Regions from separate parts of the Homo sapiens genome. Here all the other regions are linked to region 1. Evidence: promoter capture Hi-C in 16 types of primary human blood cells and fetal thymus (Javierre and others, 2016). All regions are on one chromosome and are shown on one strand. The core of a region is centred on a gene start or on the middle of the fragment in contact, and the rest is flanking DNA. Distances in the headings are between cores, read along the strand shown. Region 1 holds the start of NPPC (natriuretic peptide C). Region 2 has its middle 21 kb from the start of ALPG. Region 3 overlaps ALPG (alkaline phosphatase, germ cell). Region 4 has its middle 12 kb from the start of ALPP. Region 5 overlaps LOC124906123 (a long non-coding RNA gene). Region 6 has its middle 36 kb from the start of ALPP. Region 7 overlaps DIS3L2 (DIS3 like 3'-5' exoribonuclease 2).

Region 1 (2,651 bases), core at 1-2,500:
TTTGTTCTCTCTCCAGCCTGCGTCCTGCTCAGCAGCAGCCAGTCATAGATTCCTGCTCTTCAATCAATTCGGGGGATCTGGGCTCTCCGCCTCTGCGGCCCACACCGCAGTGCCCAAATGCCCACCACACTCCTTAGTGTCCAAGGGACCGAGAAGCCCAGTGCAAGGAGAGCAAGTTCGTGAGTGGTAGGGATATGTGGCCATGTCCCGAGAGCCACGGGGACCTCTCTACAGTCAAAAACGGGAAGTTGACCACCTGTCACGGCTGGCAGAGGCTGGACTGGGCCGCTGGCTAGGAAGCTCTCTCCCCAGCCTGTGAAAGTGCACAGGATACTGGAGCGGGCTTCCCCCAGCAGCGGATCCTCGCGTGGGTGCAGGCAAGGTCAGGTGCGCATTGTTCCCACAGAGGGAGTTCACCAGCGGAGTCAGACCCCGGGACGTTCTGTGTGGCCGAAACCGGCTGAACGTGAACCTAGAGCAGTAACTGGCGAGCATACGATGCCGCGGAGCACACGCATGAGCATGAATATCTTGGTTCCGCGCTCGCAGTCCCCTCGTTCCCGCCTTGCGCTCAAACACTCAGGCTGGCGACACCCCTGCACTCTCCAGTGTGGAAGACTTGCGCTCCCCCCTGCGGCCCAGGCGAACCCCGCTCTCCCTGCGCCTCCCACCCCAGTCCTCCAACCCCATCCTCTGCCTCCCCAACCTAACGACGTCGCTGTGGTCTGCGCTCCCGCCCTGACCGGCAGGTGAAAGGCGGAGCTGCAATGCCATCCCGCGGCTGTCAGGTGCCCAGGGAAGAGTTTGGCGACAAGCAGGGCTGCGTGGATTTCGGGCAGCGCCAACTTTATGCCTGTATGACTTTGGGCAAGTGACTTCATTCCTCTGAGCCTGTCTTTGCACCTGCAAAGAGGGCTACGTATCCCTTCCAGGTAGAGTGAGTGCGATGAGGACCTAGTGGGTGCACAGGGCACCAGGCGCACCGATGCTCGGCAGGCCAGGGCGCGCGCTCGCTGCAAATGGAGTTCCCCTGTGCGCTCAGCTCTGCAGCTCCAAGTGCAGCCTGGAGCGAGCCCGCCGAGCCGCGGGATCCCTCCGGGGTGGGATAAGGGAGGGGAGCCCCCGCGGCCCCCTCCCGGCCCTCGGCGCGGCCGCGTGCGTGGTGTCATTGGCCCGGGCGGCCCGGTGGGCGGGAGGATGACATCAGCGGCAGGTTGGATTATAAAGGCGCGAGCAGAGTCACGGGCTCAGAGCGCACCCAGCCGGCGCCGCGCAGCACTGGGACCCTGCTCGCCCTGCAGCCCAGCCAGCCTGCTCCGCATCCCCCTGCTGGTCTGCCCGCCGACCTGCGCGCCCTCGCTGCCGCCCGTGTGCGCCCCTCGACCCCAGCGGCACCATGCATCTCTCCCAGCTGCTGGCCTGCGCCCTGCTGCTCACGCTGCTCTCCCTCCGGCCCTCCGAAGCCAAGCCCGGGGCGCCGCCGAAGGTGGGTGCTGTCGTGGGGACGCCGAGCCTGGGAGAGGCGTGGGAGGCTGGGGGCTTGGAGAATGCGGCGCGCAGGACCCAGGAGAGAGGGAAGGCAGGCGGCTGTCTCCTCCGAGATGCGCGTGGGCGAGAGCCGGGGAGCCCTCGAAGCGCGGATTCGGGGGTCCACTTCTCCAGCCTCCGGAGAACATCGGCCCATGCGCAGCCCCCTACCCCAGTGTGGCCTGCCCGGCGAGCAGCAAAGGGAGGGCAGGGGGCTTCCGGAGGGAGCGGCGAAGGCGGCCGCGTGGCAGGTGGATGCGGGGCCAAGCTGGCCGGCATCGGTGGGGGCGGCTCTGGGCTTGGGAGGGACACCCCGCGCCGGCGGGCGCGTGGGGCTGGAGCATCAGAGTCCCCCGTGCTGCAGCCGCGTGTCCCTTCACCTGCCCGCTCTTTCCTCGGACAGGTCCCGCGAACCCCGCCGGCAGAGGAGCTGGCCGAGCCGCAGGCTGCGGGCGGCGGTCAGAAGAAGGGCGACAAGGCTCCCGGGGGCGGGGGCGCCAATCTCAAGGGCGACCGGTCGCGACTGCTCCGGGACCTGCGCGTGGACACCAAGTCGCGGGCAGCGTGGGCTCGCCTTCTGCAAGAGCACCCCAACGCGCGCAAATACAAAGGAGCCAACAAGAAGGGCTTGTCCAAGGGCTGCTTCGGCCTCAAGCTGGACCGAATCGGCTCCATGAGCGGCCTGGGATGTTAGTGCGGCGCCCCCTGGCGGCGGTGAGTACGGCCCACCCGACGCCCAGCCCCAGCCCGGCCCGGGACCGCCCGCCGCCCAGCCGGCCTTCGGAGGCGCGCGAGCCGCCTTTGCTCAAGTTGTGCTAGGCGTTTGCCAGCCGCCCCCTTTATTATCCCACTTTACAGACAAAGAAAGCGAAGGATAACGTGATCGGGGAACTTTGGCAAGGTCAGAAACGGCTCAGCCTGGTTGAACCCACCTGGCTTCTTCTGGAGAAGCAGAAACAGGCTTGGTGGTGTCTCACCCACCCCTGAACCGTAGCTGAACTAGCAGCACTGGCCCCTATTGGCCAGCTGGTGGGGGGATTGAGAGGAGATCATGGGTTTGTGGGAGCAGAGAAGGAAGGTTACACCCACAAGTCCAGGGGACATCGATCATCTGCTGGCCACCA
Region 2 (2,651 bases), core at 94-2,593, 500 kb before region 1:
GCCAAGATCGCGCCACTGCACTCCAGCCTGGGCGACAGAGCAAGACTTGGTCTCAGAAAAAAAAAAAAAAGAAGAAGCCAAAAACAAACATATTTGTGTTCAGCAATTTATGTTTTTGTGTTTTCTCTTACTTGGAAATGACCAATATATTTAATGAGTATCTGTCAGTTAAGGTAGCATAACATGACTTTAAGATTTCAAAGTCTGGCCAGGCACAGTGGCTCATGCCTGTAATCCCAGCACTTTGGGAGGCTGAGGTGGAGGACTGCTTGAGACCAGGAGTTCGAGAGCAGCCTGGCCAACATGGTGAAACCCCGTCTCTACCAATAATACAAAAAGTAGCTGCGTGTGGTGGCGCATGCCTGTAATCCCAGCTACTCAAGAGGCTGAGGCATGAGAATCATTTGAACGCGGGAGGTGGAGATTGCAGTGAGCCGAGATCACACCACTGCACTCCAGCCTGGGCGACAGAGGAGACTCTGTCTCAAAAAAAAAGAAAAAAAGATTTCAAATTCTATGAAAAGCTCATTTATAGACATTCATCCTATTTACATTTACCTAATTTATATTTTTAACAATTATACCTCCACTAATTATGAATACTGAGATATTACACAAAGCTAGTACTCATTTCCGGGTATTTTCTTGTTCACTATTTTCATAGCCTGTGACTCTCAGGTGTTCACTTAAGAAGCTTAAAGTTAAATACATGGATATTTTGCCAGTAACTCCTAAGACAGAGCTGTTTACATTAAACCAGCAATACTAAATTAGTTTTATTTATCAAAGAACTACACAAACAAAGATCACTGTTTTTAGGTTGGGTTTAAAGTTTTTCTATGACCTTAGGCCAGGCGCAGTGGCTCACGCCTGTAATCTGAGCACTTTGGGAGGCCGAGGTGGGCAGATCACTTGAGGTCAGGAGTTCGAGACCGGCCTGGCTAACATGGTGAAACCCCGTCGCTAATAAAAATGCAAAAATTAGCAGGGCATGATGGCACATGTCTGTAATCCCAGCTACTCAGGACGCTGAGGCAGGAAAATCACTTGAACCCTGGAGGTGGAGGTTGCAGTGAGCTGAGATTACACCACTGCACTCCAGCCTGGGTGACAGAGTGAGACTCCGTCTCACAAAAAATAAAAAATAAAATACAGTTTTAGGACCTTGAAGCATCTAGCAGAGACACGTATGATCCTAACTGACCCACAAACCGAGGGGAAAATGTACACTGCAAATGCTAAAGATGGACGTGCGTGGTGGCTCACGCCTGTAATCCCAGCACTCTGGGAGGCCGAGGCGGGTGGATCACTTGAGGCCAGGCATTTGATTAAATTAATTTTAATTTTAATTTTAATGTTTTTTGTCTTGAGGCCAGAAGTTTGAGACCAGCCTGGCCAACATGGCAAAACCCATTCTTTACTAAAAATACAAAAAAAATTAGCTAGGAGTGGTGATGAGCACCTATAGTACCATCTACTCAGGAGGTTGAGGCATGAGAACCACCTGAACCTGGGAGGTGGAGGTTGCAGTGAGCTGAGATTGCACCACTGCACTCCAGCCTGGGTGATAGAGAGAGGCTCTGAGAGAGAAAAAAAAAAAAAAAAAAAAAAAAAAAAAAAAAAAAAAGAAGGAAGGAAGGGAGGGAGGGAGGGAGGAAGAGAGAGGGAAGAAATGAAGAAAGAAAAGAAAATGCTAAAGATATTTCTATTTTTATTTTATCAACAAATTTAAAACCAGCTTATTTATCAAAGATGTAGTTAAATCGCATGAACTAAAAGGTATTTGGGTTAATTACTATGTTATATATGTATGTATATGTAATATGTATACATGTATTTATATATGTATGTATCTACACAGGTGTGTGTGCATATATATATATATATATATATATATATATATTTTTTTTTTTTTTTTTTTTTTTGAGATGGGGTCTCACTCTGTCACCCGGGCTGGAGTGCAGTGGTACAATCACAGCCCATGGAAGCTTCTACTTTCCAAGTTAAAGTGATTCTCCTGCCTCAGCCTCCCTAGTAGCTGGGACTACAGGCACACACCACCATGCCTGGCTAATTCTTGTATTTTTTTTATAGAGATGGGGTTTTGCCATGTTGCCCAGGCTTATCTCGAACTCCAGCTACTGGGCTCAAGCAGTCCACCGACCTCAGCCTCCCCAAGTGGTGGGACTAAAGATGTTTGACACCGCACCCAGCCTATATACATATTTTTTTTAGAGATGGGGTCTTGCTATGTCACTCAGGCTGTCCTTGAACTCCTGGGCTCAAGTAATCCTTCTGCCTTAGCCCCCTGAGTAGCTGGGAATACAGGCATGCTCCACCATGCCCTGCTCACTATATATTTTAACAAGTTTAATTAATCTAAGTTAAACTGAATAGAATTCCTTAAGGAATTTCTGGCCTATTGTGCCAGATTTCAAATTGGAGACATAACATACAACATGCAAAAACATACATAAACATAGATACACACAAATAAGACCTTATGGCTTTAATTTGAGCGTTTCGGTCATGAGACAGCAAAACATACTAATACAGACTCACAGGTTTATAAGACACAGTAGGATCCAAATGAGATTTCTGAGAAAATGGGAGAGGTCTCAAAGCTAAACTTTAAGATTTGCATTTGTCTT
Region 3 (2,651 bases), core at 53-2,552, 480 kb before region 1:
CATTGGTTAGAAAGAGGAACTGACTGACAACTAGGAAGATAGAAATATACTAGCTGGATTTTACCAGAAACCTTTGCATACTTGATGGATGGAATTTAACAATGAGTGTGATAATTTAGTAAGGCCAGCTATTTGAGTCTATCTTCTGTTCACCTCCCATATTTCTGTGACAGCCACTGAAACCCAGAATTGAAAAAACTGTCCTGAAACCCAGGTTCTCAAATACATGTTTTGTTTTGTTTTGTTTTGTTTTGAGACAGGGTCTTGGTCTGTCACTCAGACTAGAGTGCAGTGGCAAAATCTCAGCTCACTGCAGCCTCAACTACCCTGGGCTCAGGTGATCCTCCCGCCTCAGCCTCCCAAGTAGTTGGGATGACAGGCACGTGCCACCTGGCCTGGCTAAATTTTTTAAAAATCTGGGGCTAGGCATGGTGGCTCATGCCTGTAATCTCAGCACTTTCTGAGGCCAAGGCGAGCGGATCGTTTAAGGTCAGGATTGAGACCAGCCTGGCCAACATAGTGAAACCCCATCTCTACTAAAAATTCAAAAATTTGCCTGGCATGGTGGCAGGCGCCTGTAATCCCAGCTACATGGGAGGCTGGGGCGGGAGATTCACTTGAATCCAGGAGGTGGAGTTTGCAGTGAGCCTAGATCCTGCCACTGCACTTCAGCCTGGGAGACAGAGTGAGACTCTGCCTCAACACTAAACGAAAACGTGTAGAGGTGAGGTCTCACCATTTGCCCAGGCTGGTCTGCAACTCCTGAACTCAAGCAATCCTAACCTCTTTTCCTCCCAAAGTGCTGGGATTGCAGGCATTGAACCACCATGCCTGGCAAATAGACGTCTTACAATGTTAATTCAATTTTCATAAAGAAGTATTCAATCATTCTAGTATTTCTAGTGAGTACAAAGTCTTTTTGTTTTGTTTTCTTCTTGAGACAGGGCCTTGCTCTGTCACCCAGGCTGAAGTGTAGTGACGTGATCGCACCTCACTGCAGCCTCCACCCTCCCAGGCCCCAGACAATCCTCCCACCTCAGCCTCCTGAGTAGCTGGGACCACAGACATGGGCAACCAAGCTTGGCTAATTTTTGTATTTTTTGTAGAGACAGAATTTCACCATGTTGACAAAGTGCTCCTTGTACCATTGTAAATGTACAAATAAATCTGTAATAATGTAAACTTTCCTGGAAAATGTGGTTGATTTCACCTTCATTTAATTCTTTTCAATGTTCTCTTGGGGCAAGTGTGATACTAAGTATGGCTGTATTGGGATGGGTGCTCCAGAATGCTTTCGGAGGGAGGTCAGAAACACCTGGAGTCAGCTCCTTCCCCAGCTCTCACCTCTACCCTCCACCACCCCCACCCTCTATCCAAAAGACCAGACCCTTCTCCTGGCAGCAGCCAGAGTGCTCATTTCCCAGCCAGGGCAGGTCACAGCCCTCCTCAAAGACCTCCAACCACACCCCTCTACCTAGACTTCACGGTCCCCCATGTCCCCCACCCTCCTGACCCCTCAAGCTTTACCCCATCTACCCACCCTCTGATCCAGCCCCTGGCCTCCCAGACAGCCTGCTGACACTGCCCCAGGGCCTTTGTGCTGCTGTGCCACCTTGCTCAAGCCCCGACTCTGTTCAGGTCTCCTGCTCAGTCATCTGCTCCTCAGCAGCCCCTCCTGGCCTGTGTTATCCACCCCTCCAGCCACTGTGTCCACATTCAGTCATGATTTTTATGCTAGGAAGTAGTACTGGCATTACATTGTCTAACACTTCCTTTTATTATTGCTTTGTGTTTCCCAGAAGAATGGAGGCCCAGGGAGGGAAGGTAATGAGTCTTCCTTGCTGAGAAATCCATGCCCAGCACCCAGATGGCCTAGGCGGGGCCATGGACTCTGGACTGCTATCCTGCACCCAGAGCTTCCCAGGTGCTCCTCGGAACTCAGGTGGGTGCTGGAATGGACCTTAGGGGGCGTCGAACATCTGAGTGGCTGTGACTTGGGGCAAGCCTCTCTGACTCATGGGCCCCTAGGAGGGGCACAGGGGTGTAGAATTAGCCCAGTGGAGGGACAGCAGAGGACTGTGTCAAAGCCCCCCTGGGGATCCCCACCACAGCAGCCTCCTTGGCTGGGAGGGTGGGTTGCAGGGTGGCAGGAAGCCACGCTTCTCCAAGGCGTCCTGATGCACCCAAGTCCTTGTGTCCCTCAGGTGCTGCCATGACTGAAGCTAAAAAAGGCGCAGGGGGTCCTAGGTATGGGTGCCTCATGTCCCCGGGGAGAGAGCCTGCCTGATCCACCTCAGGATATGGGCGGGGGCTGGATGGTCTGAGCCTCCTCTTTTCCTGAAATGCAGGCAGCTGCCAGGCACAAATCCCCAGTCCCTGGAGTTGGGGCCAAAATTTCAAGAGCAAGATAAAGCAAAGGGCGTGGTGTCAAGGGCTCGGTCCCCAGGGTGCACCGGGAGGGGAAGGTTCCATGGCAGGACGTCTGTGTGGCGACTCCGGGGGTGACAGCTCCAGGTGGAGGTCCGGCAGGACGACTGGAGGTGGGGAGCAGGGGAACTCCGGGATGGGGAAGCAGGAGCCCCAGGGACGGGACACTCAGGGAGCAGTGGCCGTCCCCAGCAGCAGCAAGGTCCCTGCCAGCAGAGGAAGCA
Region 4 (2,651 bases), core at 71-2,570, 460 kb before region 1:
CTGGGATTACAGGCGTGCGCCACCACACCTGGCTAATTTTGTATTTTCAGTAGAGACAGGGTTTCACCATATTGGTCAGGCTGGTCTGGAACTCTTGATGCCAAGTGATCCACGTGCCTTGGCCTCCCAAAGTGCTGGGGTTACAGGCATCAGCCACCGCGCCTGGCAAGCAGTTTAGTTTTCTGGTTTTTATTTTAATCTCTTTGAGCCCACCTTTATCCTTTTTCAGTTTCAAATGAGATTAAGGATTAAATACTAACTGTTTAATTTTAGCTAGGACTGGCTGGATTTTGTACAAGAAACAAAATCTCCTAGCAGTTTTGAAAAGTCCAATAACAAATTTCTCTTCTGTTTGCCACTCTCAGTTGCTTGACAGCTCCGTGCCGGTGGGAAGCATTTTAGCAGTTCGTTCAGCTCTTCCTGGCCCCTGTGTAGCAGAGAAGCAGTTTTTATGCCAGAAACAGAGATCCTTTTCATTATTGCTCTGAGCTCATGATTTTGACCTGTTTAATCTGGGTGCCTAACATTTATAAACATTTCTCTCATTCTGTTCTTTTCTAATATCAATCCTTCCGTGGACTGTTCCATCACCCGAAGCAACTGTTAGGCAAACCTGAATTTACATTTCCAAAAGGTCTCTAGGTTGTTGTTTGCCACGGAGCTGTTGTAATTTATAGAGCCATTAATTTGAAAGCCCTTCAAGACCCCTTCCTTAGTGGTTTTTATGTTGGCTGGAGTGTGATATTATCAGTTTATCTTAATGCCAGCAGAAATGTCAGCAGATTCCAAGTAGGCAGAAAAGAGAGAGACAGAAGTAGACAACTTAGAAGGCTCTCCATTTAACTTTGTAGTTGGCAGTTTAAAAATTCAGTATTAGGAAAAAGCAAATTTGAGGAGTTCAAATGATTCCAATGATGGCCATTGATTTTGAAATGTGCACAGGGAAAGCCATGTAGCTGCCTGGAGTCCCAGAAAATCTGGCACGCCTTAGTGTCTGAGAATGCCATTCCATTTCTTTTTCATCTCTGAGAAGCAAAGAAAATCCTATAAACCCTGTCAGGGACTGTCAGGAGTCTGGACCAGTGTTTTAGATGGTGGTGACACCCTGGGTTCTTTCAGTTGGCTTTCTCACACTCACCATATGTGTATTTTTTGAGACAATTCTCACTGTTAAACAGGCTTTAGTGCAGTGGCAGGACCACAAGTCATGGTAGCCTCGACCTCCTGGGCTCAAGCAATCCTCCCACATCAGCCTCCTGATAGCTGGGACTACAGGTGGGAGCTGCCACACCCAGCTAATTTTTGTGTTATTTGTAGAGGTGGGGTTTCATCATGTTGCCCAGGCTGGTCTCCAACTCCTTAGCTCAAGCCATTCTCTCACCTTGGCCTCCCAGAGTGCAGGGATTACAGACAGGAGCCACCTCGAGGGGCCGACCCTCACCGTGTGTACGTGTGTTTTAACATTTCCTATGGTGCTAAACTATTTATGTTTATTTTTGCTGTGGGATGATCAGAAGATGTTCAGGAACAAGCAAGAAAAAAAAATGAGCCAAATCATTTAAAGACGTGGGAAACCAAACCAAAATCAAACCCAAATCAGAATGCTCACAAAATTTCAACCAAGGTGTACACATCAAACATAATATTCAGTCAGGCATCCAGAACCAAAAGTGAATTCACCAGGAAAGACTTGCCTCATGGACAGAACATAAATTCTTTAGAACTCAGAGTCCTCAAACCAGAAGGGCACTGCTCTTTACACCAGAAAGTGCTTGCCAAAAGCAAAGAAGCAAAAAAAAGAAAGAAAGAAAGAAAGAAAGAAAGAAAGAAAGAAAGAAAGAAAGAAAGAAAGAAAGAAAGAAACCCAACCTTTATACCCTCAGGAGGGATGCAAGGTCCTTTGTTTAAGGGAGCCTTATAATCAAATCACATCCAGGATAAAGTAAAAAGGAACTGACCAAAGGGAGGGAATCTGGGTATTTGAGGAGATTCACCAGAACAGAAAAGCAACTCCTGGAAAGGCAGTCTGCGGGGGGCTCAGTCAACACTGCGTTAGATTCCAGGACACGCTGATTCATCCAAGATGAATTCACTTCGGTCCCACTTCTGGCTCCGCTATGTGACACTGCATAACAAATACAGAAAGACTCTAAAATAAAATGAACTTTCTTTGGAAATAGGTATTGCTTGGGAATAAGCAGGCCATAGGAAAGCACGTGTGAATTTAGGGAGGTGAAGGAAGACAAAGGTTTTTAAAGGAAAATGGAGGAGGATCACAGGATTGTTTTGAGATATTTATCCTTGGCTACAAGGATCAAGGATATGCGTGGCACCAGTCTGAGGATGGACGGGTGGTTGCTGGGCAGATGTCCTTGCAGAAATATTTTTCGATGAAAGGTTAAGAAGGCCTTTGTGCAAGGTGGAACTGGGCCTGGACCACTGGCATCACCCACTCACCCACAGCCTCAGCTTCCCTTTTGGAGACACTGCAGGGGAGCCAAGGAGCTGGGCCTCGGACCCCTCTTTATTGGCAGTCTGTGCAGGGTGACCAGGACTGTGTGGTCACAGGCTAAACCCAAGTCACCTCCTATTGGCCGCGATTGCTGTGCTCTGGGTCAACTGTGCATTGGTACCATGGGGGCCGCACTCGC
Region 5 (2,651 bases), core at 55-2,554, 450 kb before region 1:
GCAGTGGGGCAATCACGGCTCACTGCAGCCTTAACCTCCTGGGCCCAAGAGATTCTTCCACCTCAGCCTCCCGAGTAGTGGGGACTACAGGTGTGTGCCACCTTGCCCATTTAATTTTTGCATTTTTGGTAGAGATGGGGTTTCACCATGTTGCCCAGGCTGGTCTGGAAGTCCTGGGCTTAAGCCTCTCCTCCCAAAGTGCTGTGATTACAGGTGTGAGCCTCCACCCCCAGCACGGCCTAAATTTTTTGACACTCCTTTTCTTTTAATAGCTTTTGGCCAGAACATGCTTACTAGCAACACCTCTTCCCAACCCCTCATGAATAATCATGTAAGATTTCCATAAAGGGAGCCTCCCTAGTGCCAACTTTTGCTGTCTCATCTTTATGAGCAGCCTGCCCTGAATTCTTCTCTCTGCCTATTCTGCACTTCACTTTCAAGATGTTCTTTTTCTTTTGCAAAAATTATTGTATGCTGCATCTCCTTTGCTGTTGTGTCTCTTGTTTAAATTATTTTAAGCTAAGAAGACAAGAACCAAAGTCTCACATCAGCTGCCAACAGTACTCCAGATTATTTCAGGTGGTGTGGGTGTCAAGGCAATTCCATCTTGGGGCCTGATCTACCAGGTTGATGAATGCCAGTTCTCGGAGGGCCTCTGAGATTTCCCATTCATGTCGTGTTTCTAGTGCGGGAGCACCTACTTCCCATAAATCCTGCCCTTAGGACAAAACAACTTTGATGTTATCATATTTCAATTGTCCTACACATCCCTTTGAGGTCACCCCTCCCCTGTGGCCCTTGGTCTTGGGGGGTAAAGCTACCATCTTGTCTCACTGCCACCTGAGACCCAGACATAGCTTCTGTTTGTAAGTCTCTATTAAATGTTTTTTTCTAAGAAACTGGATATGTCAGCAATTCTCCTGCCTCAGCCTCCTGCAGTGGCTCACGTCTTTATAGGAGGCCGAGGTGGGTTGATTGCTGGAACCCAGGACTTTGAGACCAGCCTGGACAACATGGCAAGACACTGTCTCTACCAAAAAATGTAAAAATTAGCTGGGCATGGTGGCATATGCCTGTAGTCCCAGCTACTTGGGAGGCTGAGGTGGGAGGATTGCTTGAACCCAGGAGGTCGAGGCTGCAGTAAGCTGAGGTTGTGTCACTCTACTCCAGCCTGGGCAGCAGAGTGAGACCCTGCCAAAACAAAACAAAACAACAACCAAAAAACCCCACATACTCCTGAAAAGCAGTCTAGGCCACCAGGAGGCTTGCTGTCTTGTCATTTCAACATACATGTCCACTTCAGTTGATGCATTACTGTGGGAACAGCAAGACGAGCTGGCGATTCCACACACTCCCCTTGTTCAGCAAGCAAACAGTGCACAGCTATGCGGTTATCTAAAACTACTCCAGGCTGGGCATGGTGGCTCACGCCTGTAATCCCAGCACTTTGGGAGGCTGAGGTGGGCGGATCACTTGAGGCCAGGAGTCCCAGACCAGCCTCGCCAATATAGTGAAACCCCATCTCTACTAAAAATACAAAAATTAGCAGGGTATTTATGGTGGTACACGCCTGTAATCCCAGCTACATGGGAGGCTGAGGCAGCAGAATCGCTCGAACCCGGGAGGCAGAGGTGGCAGTGAGCCGAGATTGCACCACTGTACTCCAGCCTGGGTGACTAAGCGAGACTCTGTCTCGATAATAATAATAATAATAATAATAATAATAATAATAAAACTACTCCAGCTAAGGAGTCTAGGGACTTGCTGGGCAGCCATAGCAGCCGCCATTTAGCTTGCTTTGATCCATAGGGCAGCCCTCAGGAGCACAGGTCTGTGTCTTGGGTAGCAGTAGTCACTAAGGCTGTCCTTTCTAACTAGGAATCAGTTAGGTTATTACTACATCCAGGCAAAGTCACACCTGCCCGAAAGACTTCCTGACTCATTAAGGCCTGCCCATCAGATGGAGTGCTCTCTGGCTCACCATCAAGGGAAAAGAGGAGCTCGCCTTCTTTTAGCAAGGGTAAGGGAATAGCCCAACTGGGATGCCCAATAGAAACGGGGGCTTCGTGGTCCCTAAAAGGGTCCACGTAAGGAGTACTCAGTCCAGTCCACAATTCTTTTAGGGGTCTTTGGATGTTCAGATAGGGACATGCAAAAAGCTGTGAACTGTTGGGTTAACGGGTCGCTGTGATCCAGGACAGATTGGCTTCGGTGACACATCCAACAGTGGATGAGTTGGCGGATGAAGCAAGAGCTTGTGAAATACTAAGCAGTGAGCTGTCCTTCCATCCAGAGGCAAGAAGGCGCTGGAGAACAGTAACAGCCAGAAAAGCGTATGTTCCCTTTATGATTTCTTAGGGTCTTTGGCTGGGCTTTGAACTCTACCAGTTTCCCCTGGAGGAACTCCAGAAACACTGGCTTTATCTGAGTGTAGTAAATCCGCAGCACCCACAGATGAGTGGGTGCTCAGCAGCACCTCAACAGGGCCGACCACGGTGGTTGCACTGATCTTCAGCCTACTGGAATTTCCAGGTCTTCAACAGAACTTGGTCCCCTGGTTTCAAATTTTAATTTAATTTTTTTTAATTTGAGATAAGCGTCTCGATCTGTCACCCAGGCTGGAATCCAGTGGCTCAATGTTGGCTCACCGC
Region 6 (2,651 bases), core at 107-2,606, 420 kb before region 1:
TTACTTTCTTTCCATAATCTTTCCTTCTCCGCCACAAGGAATTCCACATGCTTCTTCAAATCTGCAACTGGGTTGTCTGCTCCTCTACTCTTATCGTGTTTTGGGGCTTTGCTTCCAATACACGGCTCTGTTGCTGAAGGAAAAACAGTCGTGTGTCTGGATCCCTGTCACATATGCCCCGAGTCTCAGGCAGGCGTTCCTCTGTGGAGGGCTGTGCTTCTGCATCTTCAGCAGAGGGGCTGTGAGAGGCCTGAAGATGGGCAGCCCCATCCTTGTCTGCGTTCTGCTGGGCCCTTTTCCGTGTCTCCTGGATGAGGAGGCGCGGTTTCATGTGGCTAGGCCTTTGCAATTCCAGTGAAAGGTGAGCCTACTCAGCCTGCGTCAGCTCCATAGCTTCAGAAAGATACAGCATGGCCTTTTTGTGACAGGAAATAGCCTCTTCATATTTGCCTGCAGCTAGTCAACAGTCTGCTTTGATGATGAGCCAGGTTGAGGGGGCCTTCAGTTACTTCCAGAAGACCCCAGGGTAGGCGGCAGTGCCGGGGAACATGGAGGGGACAGCAGAGCAGTGTGATGCAGCTGTGGACACAGCAGCCCCTCTCAAATCTTTAACCTGCCTCAGCCCTCCCAGCCCCCCCACTCTGACTCCTATCAGCCCTTGAAATCTGTGATTTCGACCCATGAACACCTCTTTGATCTGTGCCCAGCAAGGGCTGGGGCACACTCTTCTGCAGAAAAGACCCATCGACCGTGCAGCCCTTCCCCAGGTGGCACAGCTGCTCCTGGCTCACGGAGCTGCCCAGGGACTGGCCCCTCACCCTGGGCTCCCAGGGGCCCCAGCCCAGCCTGGGCTCACACATGAGCCTAGAGGTTCTATGGAGGCAATGAGGATTTGTCACTGCCATGACTGCTACTTGAGGCTTTAAGTAGAAGACCATACGCAGCCTTCTAAACGAGTGGGAACCTGAGGTTGCGTGTCAGTAGGAATTTTATCTGTTGCTAGAATAGTGGACTCTTTCATACACCCTATGCTGAATGTACAAGAAGCCTTGGAATCCAATTGTGGATCATTCCTGTGCTATTAGCATGAATACATTTTTTTCAACTTCAGTTTTTACTTTTGTCCAAGTTATATGTGAATGTAGTTTAAAGTATCAAACAGATCTACAAGGTTTGTTAAAACAAACAGCAGTTCCGTCTCCCTCCTTGCATTTTCCCATCTCTGAGGCAACCACTTTCCTCTCTCTTGGTGTTTTACTATTTACCACTGTTGCTAAATAAGATACTTCTTCATGTCTGAATTTGAAGCTATGTGTATATATGTATATATGTGTATATATGCATATATGTGTATATATGTATATGTGTATGTGTGTATGTGTATATATGTGTATGTGTATATATGTATGTGTATATATGTGTATATATGTATGTGTATATATGTATACGTGTATATATGTGTATGTGTATATGTATATGTGTATATATGTATATGTGTATATATATATGCTACACACACACACACACACACACAGCCTACTGATGTTCTATTATCTATCGTTGTGTGACAAACTACCCCCAACAACCTTAAAAAACAATCATCTATCGTCTATATTTTGATCACAAAACTGCCATCTGGGCAGGGCTGATGGGACTGCCTGTGTGTACTGAGGCCTCAGCGGGCCTGGCTTGCAGGTTGGGGGTCTGCGTGGCTGCCCAACTGGTGCTGGCTGTGGGCTGAGAGTGGGCCCCTCCATAAGGGCTTCTCCAGAGCTGCTTGGGCTTCCTTACAGAAGGGCAGGTAGGTTTCCAGAGACAGAGAGGGGAAGCTGCCAGTCTCTTAAGGCCTGGGCCTGCAACTGGCACAGTGTCCCTTCTGCCATATTAGCTTAGCAGCCCTGGGGCCTGTCAAGATTGAAGAGGCGGAAAGAGAGTTTACAGTCATCTTCAAGCCACAGCTTCCCACTGAGGAAAATGAGCATTTAGCTTCCATTTCACCAACTGCATTCCCTGCATGTGGACAGCGTCCCCATCTTCCAGTCCTCCTGATAGAGTTCTGCAGTAAACTAGATCCTGACTCGGCATTTCTATGGTGATGACTGTGTAAACGCTATTGCCAGATCGTAAACTGTGACTAGCTACCTCTTCTTGCTTGCACTGCTGTTTTCTCTGGAGCCAATCATGGTCTTATCTTCACATGTGGATCATTCTGTATGTACTACTAATCCAACCCGAGGCTCTATGCGAAGTACTTCAATGTCCTCCAGGCTCTTCTGGGGAATTCAGCTTTCTATCCATGTCACTCTACTGCTGCCCTGGGTGGGACGTCCCGGGGCGGGTTGCCAGGCACCACCTGGGGCTGAGCTGCTCCCTCACCACTGTCCCGAGCGCTTGCCCCACCGCAGCTTGAAGGACCCTGGGTCCTGTCACTACGGTTTCCTCTTTGTGGCTTCTGCCCTCATTACTGCCCATCTTTCCTGAGAAGGCGAGGGACATGTATCTGTTGAGAGCTCACCTGTCTGCAGTGTTTTTACTCTAGTGGCGCTGAAATGTGTCTCCACGGTGGCAATCATTGTGCCTCCAAGGGCCCTTGTTTTGCTCTCTAGGAACTTTTTGGAGCAACCTCCTCTCGTTTCACGATGGCTTTCTCA
Region 7 (2,651 bases), core at 88-2,587, 330 kb before region 1:
GTATTTTTAGTAGAGACGGGGTTTCACCATGTTGGCCAGGATGGTCTCTAACTCCAGACCTCGTGATCCGCCCGCTTTGGCCTCCCAAAGTGCTGGGATTACAGGCATGAGCCACCACACCTGGCCCCTCTTTTCTTTCTTAATCACAGGATTTGGGTCACTCTTCTGTAGGCAGGTGAGTTTACTGCACATACTCTGGAATACCACTGTTCAGAATGTCAAATTAAATACAGTGCCAACACTGACTGAAGGCGTATTACTGGGAAAAAACTACTGAAAAAGGAGTACATAATTATGTACTACAGCACTGTAATTCAAGGCCTACCTACTGTACTAAGTAAGACCGGAAGTAGTCTAACACTCGGAGTATTCTTAAACCTACTACTTCTAAAATCTCCTTAACACATCTGGGAGGAGTGCATTGTTCAGCCCATTTTACAGTTGAGAAAACAGGCCAGGAACTTGTCAAAAGTCATACAAACTCCTAAGTGGCGGCCAAGACCAGATCCAGTTAAAGACAGACCCAAAATCTAGTGTTACTTTTATTCCATTTCAGGTGAAGGTCATAAATTAGACAGAGGCAGATGATGAAGTAAAATAAACCAAGTATGTCTCAAACACACATCAACTTTCTATATTGATACAGAAGTATGACCACTTCCTTTGAAAATTATTCAGTTCCATTCAAATGTATCTTTAAATTTATCCTCTGAAAAATGTCAGCACTTCATTAAGATGTATCTCTGGCTGAAAAAACTGCAAGTGGGGTTAACTTATAATCTTAAATAATTAGGTACAAAATCACTTTTGCAGGAGCTCCGGGCTTCCGTATGCAAAATATTTTGTTCAAAAAAATATGAGGAAGAAAGAAACCTTTTCCTGACTGGAACAAAACCAGGCTGTTTGGAGTGACGGAGGGTGGGAGGGAGGTGGAGTGGATTTTGGCTGCTTCTTAGAGCTACGAAAACAGGGCAATCATCCTTAGTAGGGGCAGCCCGGCAGTGAGAAAAGTCAAAGGTGCCAAGAAGCAAGTGTCTGAAAAGGACTAGGCAGAGAGAGGACGGGCTGGAAGAGAGCAGAGAGAGGCAGGTCATGCCTGTGGTGGAAAGGACGCAAACTTGCTAGGGAAGGTCCTAGTAACTGCAGAGGACAGAGGCAGTGGGGTGGCTAGAGCAAACAAGAGGCTACTCCACAAGCCCCAGTCCTCACACTAGGGCCATCATCACTAAGCAAAGCTCAGGCTTCCCCTGAAAAAGGGAGAGACGAACACAGTAAGATTAAGGCATGAATATCTAGACTGAAGCACCATTGCACACAATCCACTTATACACCCAGCAGAATGCTCGCTTTCTCTTCACAGGTGGCTCACTGCAACTTCTGCCTCCTGGGTTCAAGCAATTCTCCTGCCTCAGCCTCCCAAGTAGCTGGGACTACAGGTGCCCACCACCATGCCTGGCTAATTTTTGTATTTTTAGTAGAGACAGGGTTTCACCATGTTGGCCAAGCTGGTCTTGAACTCCTGACCTCAGGTGATCTGCCCACCTCAGCCTCCCAAAGTGCTGAGATTAAAGGTATGAGCCACCATGCCCAGCCAAATATTTATTTATTTATTCATTCATTTATATTTTAGAAACAGGGTCTCGATCTGTTCTCAATCTGATCAAGTGATCCTCCTGCCTCAGCCTCCTAAGTAGCGGCAAGGCAGAGAGAAATTTTGATGTGGAAAGGGGGACCTCAGCAGTTGAAGTTGGCTAGCCTCTCTCGTTTCCAAGAAGGAGGAATGAAAGGTACTTGGGAGAATGATGGGTCTTAAAGGAAAGAGGAGTGGAAAGCAAGGTTGAGGTTGGAACCGAAGAAAAAAGGCTTGGAACCTAGTGACGAATAAAAGGATTCCCAAGTAGCACTGAAGGTTCAGCTGAGAAAGCCCCAACTGGTACACAACATAGTTCTACAATGTCCAATTCTCAGAATGGAATGAGTTAAGCAGGGAGGAAAAGATCTGCTCAGCTACAAGGAAGGGGCAGAGGCTTGAAGGATATGAGAAGATGGCAGGTGGGGAAACTCAACCTTGACTGATGTCAGGTCCCTGGAGCTGGGGAGGGGGCCTGCAGCACAGCAGAGAGCTCAGTTACACATAAAAGGCAGCTTCTCTCCTGTGAGCAGCAATGCTCCAGGACATGAGAGGAGATGCTGGTTGCAGGAAGACTCTGGAGTCTATGCATTTCCAGCACAGAAGACAGGCAGAAAAGAACAAGGAAAAAGTTACCATTGTAAGGGGGCGTTTTATCTTTTATTGTGAATGAGAGATTGGAAAGTTTTAATGGAGAGACAAGGCTTAAGATTCAGAAGGATCACTCTGACAGCTGTATGCAGAGGAGATGACGTGGGGCAAGAGCAGAGGCTGCAAGGACAGTCAGGAGGCCACTGTATCTGTCAAGGTGAGAGAGAATAGCTTGGACGCAGGTATTAGTGCCGGTAGTTAAGGAAGGGGGCTGATTCTGGAGGCATTCAGAAAGCAAAGCAGCGATGACACACTGGCAGACTGGATGCAGATGTAGCATGAGAGAAAGACCAAAGTCAAGAATGACCCCGTGGTTTTTGACCTAAGTAAATGGCTGAAATAGGCGACTTCCATAGTACACTCCAGGTCC

Evidence for each region. The method cuts DNA at HindIII sites, captures the fragments that hold promoters and counts their contacts. A CHiCAGO score of 5 or more calls a contact.
Region 2: a fragment that was not itself captured here is called in contact with the fragment with the promoter of NPPC in region 1 in 3 of 17 cell types (total CD4 T cells, total CD8 T cells and naive CD4 T cells); the score reaches 6.9 in total CD4 T cells.
Region 3: a contact is called between a fragment that was not itself captured here and the fragment with the promoter of NPPC in region 1, in 1 of 17 cell types (naive CD8 T cells). The highest score is 5.8, in naive CD8 T cells.
Region 4: a contact is called between a fragment that was not itself captured here and the fragment with the promoter of NPPC in region 1, in 8 of 17 cell types (naive CD4 T cells, naive CD8 T cells, endothelial precursors and 5 more). The highest score is 9.5, in naive CD4 T cells.
Region 5: a fragment that was not itself captured here is called in contact with the fragment with the promoter of NPPC in region 1 in 7 of 17 cell types (naive CD8 T cells, total CD4 T cells, total CD8 T cells and 4 more); the score reaches 8.0 in naive CD8 T cells.
Region 6: a contact is called between a fragment that was not itself captured here and the fragment with the promoter of NPPC in region 1, in 6 of 17 cell types (neutrophils, monocytes, non-activated CD4 T cells and 3 more). The highest score is 9.0, in neutrophils.
Region 7: a fragment that was not itself captured here is called in contact with the fragment with the promoter of NPPC in region 1 in 6 of 17 cell types (fetal thymus, naive CD8 T cells, neutrophils and 3 more); the score reaches 8.4 in fetal thymus.

What each region holds. Positions count from the first base shown.
Region 1 is chr2:231,924,995-231,927,645 of GRCh38, reverse strand. It overlaps NPPC (natriuretic peptide C), which reads left to right and starts at 1,250. Exons shown (of 3, transcript NM_024409.4): 1 at 1,250-1,486; 2 at 1,931-2,241. The coding sequence starts at 1,397. The coding sequence ends at 2,221. RefSeq lists an enhancer at 1-560 and silencers at 962-1,181, 2,137-2,186, 2,267-2,356. The HindIII fragment of the contact is 15,333 bases long and covers 1-2,651 here.
Region 2 is chr2:232,426,131-232,428,781 of GRCh38, reverse strand. No RefSeq gene overlaps it. Among named protein-coding and RNA genes, the nearest start is that of ALPG, 21 kb to the right of the region's middle. The HindIII fragment of the contact is 1,294 bases long and covers 697-1,990 here.
Region 3 is chr2:232,409,817-232,412,467 of GRCh38, reverse strand. ALPG (alkaline phosphatase, germ cell) reads right to left here. Exons shown (of 11, transcript NM_031313.3): 11 at 1,754-2,651. The coding sequence ends at 2,596. Among named protein-coding and RNA genes, the nearest start is that of ALPG, 4.3 kb to the right of the region's middle. The HindIII fragment of the contact is 442 bases long and covers 1,082-1,523 here.
Region 4 is chr2:232,388,929-232,391,579 of GRCh38, reverse strand. No RefSeq gene overlaps it. Among named protein-coding and RNA genes, the nearest start is that of ALPP, 12 kb to the right of the region's middle. The HindIII fragment of the contact is 7,652 bases long and covers 1-2,651 here.
Region 5 is chr2:232,372,260-232,374,910 of GRCh38, reverse strand. LOC124906123 (a long non-coding RNA gene) reads left to right here. Exons shown (of 4, transcript XR_007088121.1): 2 at 1-2,020; 3 at 2,197-2,333. Among named protein-coding and RNA genes, the nearest start is that of ALPP, 5.2 kb to the left of the region's middle. The HindIII fragment of the contact is 3,123 bases long and covers 1-2,651 here.
Region 6 is chr2:232,340,980-232,343,630 of GRCh38, reverse strand. It overlaps a transcript of DIS3L2 not described here and the pseudogene NRBF2P6. Among named protein-coding and RNA genes, the nearest start is that of ALPP, 36 kb to the left of the region's middle. RefSeq lists an enhancer at 281-790. The HindIII fragment of the contact is 5,996 bases long and covers 1-2,651 here.
Region 7 is chr2:232,255,778-232,258,428 of GRCh38, reverse strand. The region is part of intron 12 of DIS3L2 (DIS3 like 3'-5' exoribonuclease 2); the gene reads right to left. Among named protein-coding and RNA genes, the nearest start is that of MIR562, 84 kb to the right of the region's middle. The HindIII fragment of the contact is 3,979 bases long and covers 1-2,651 here.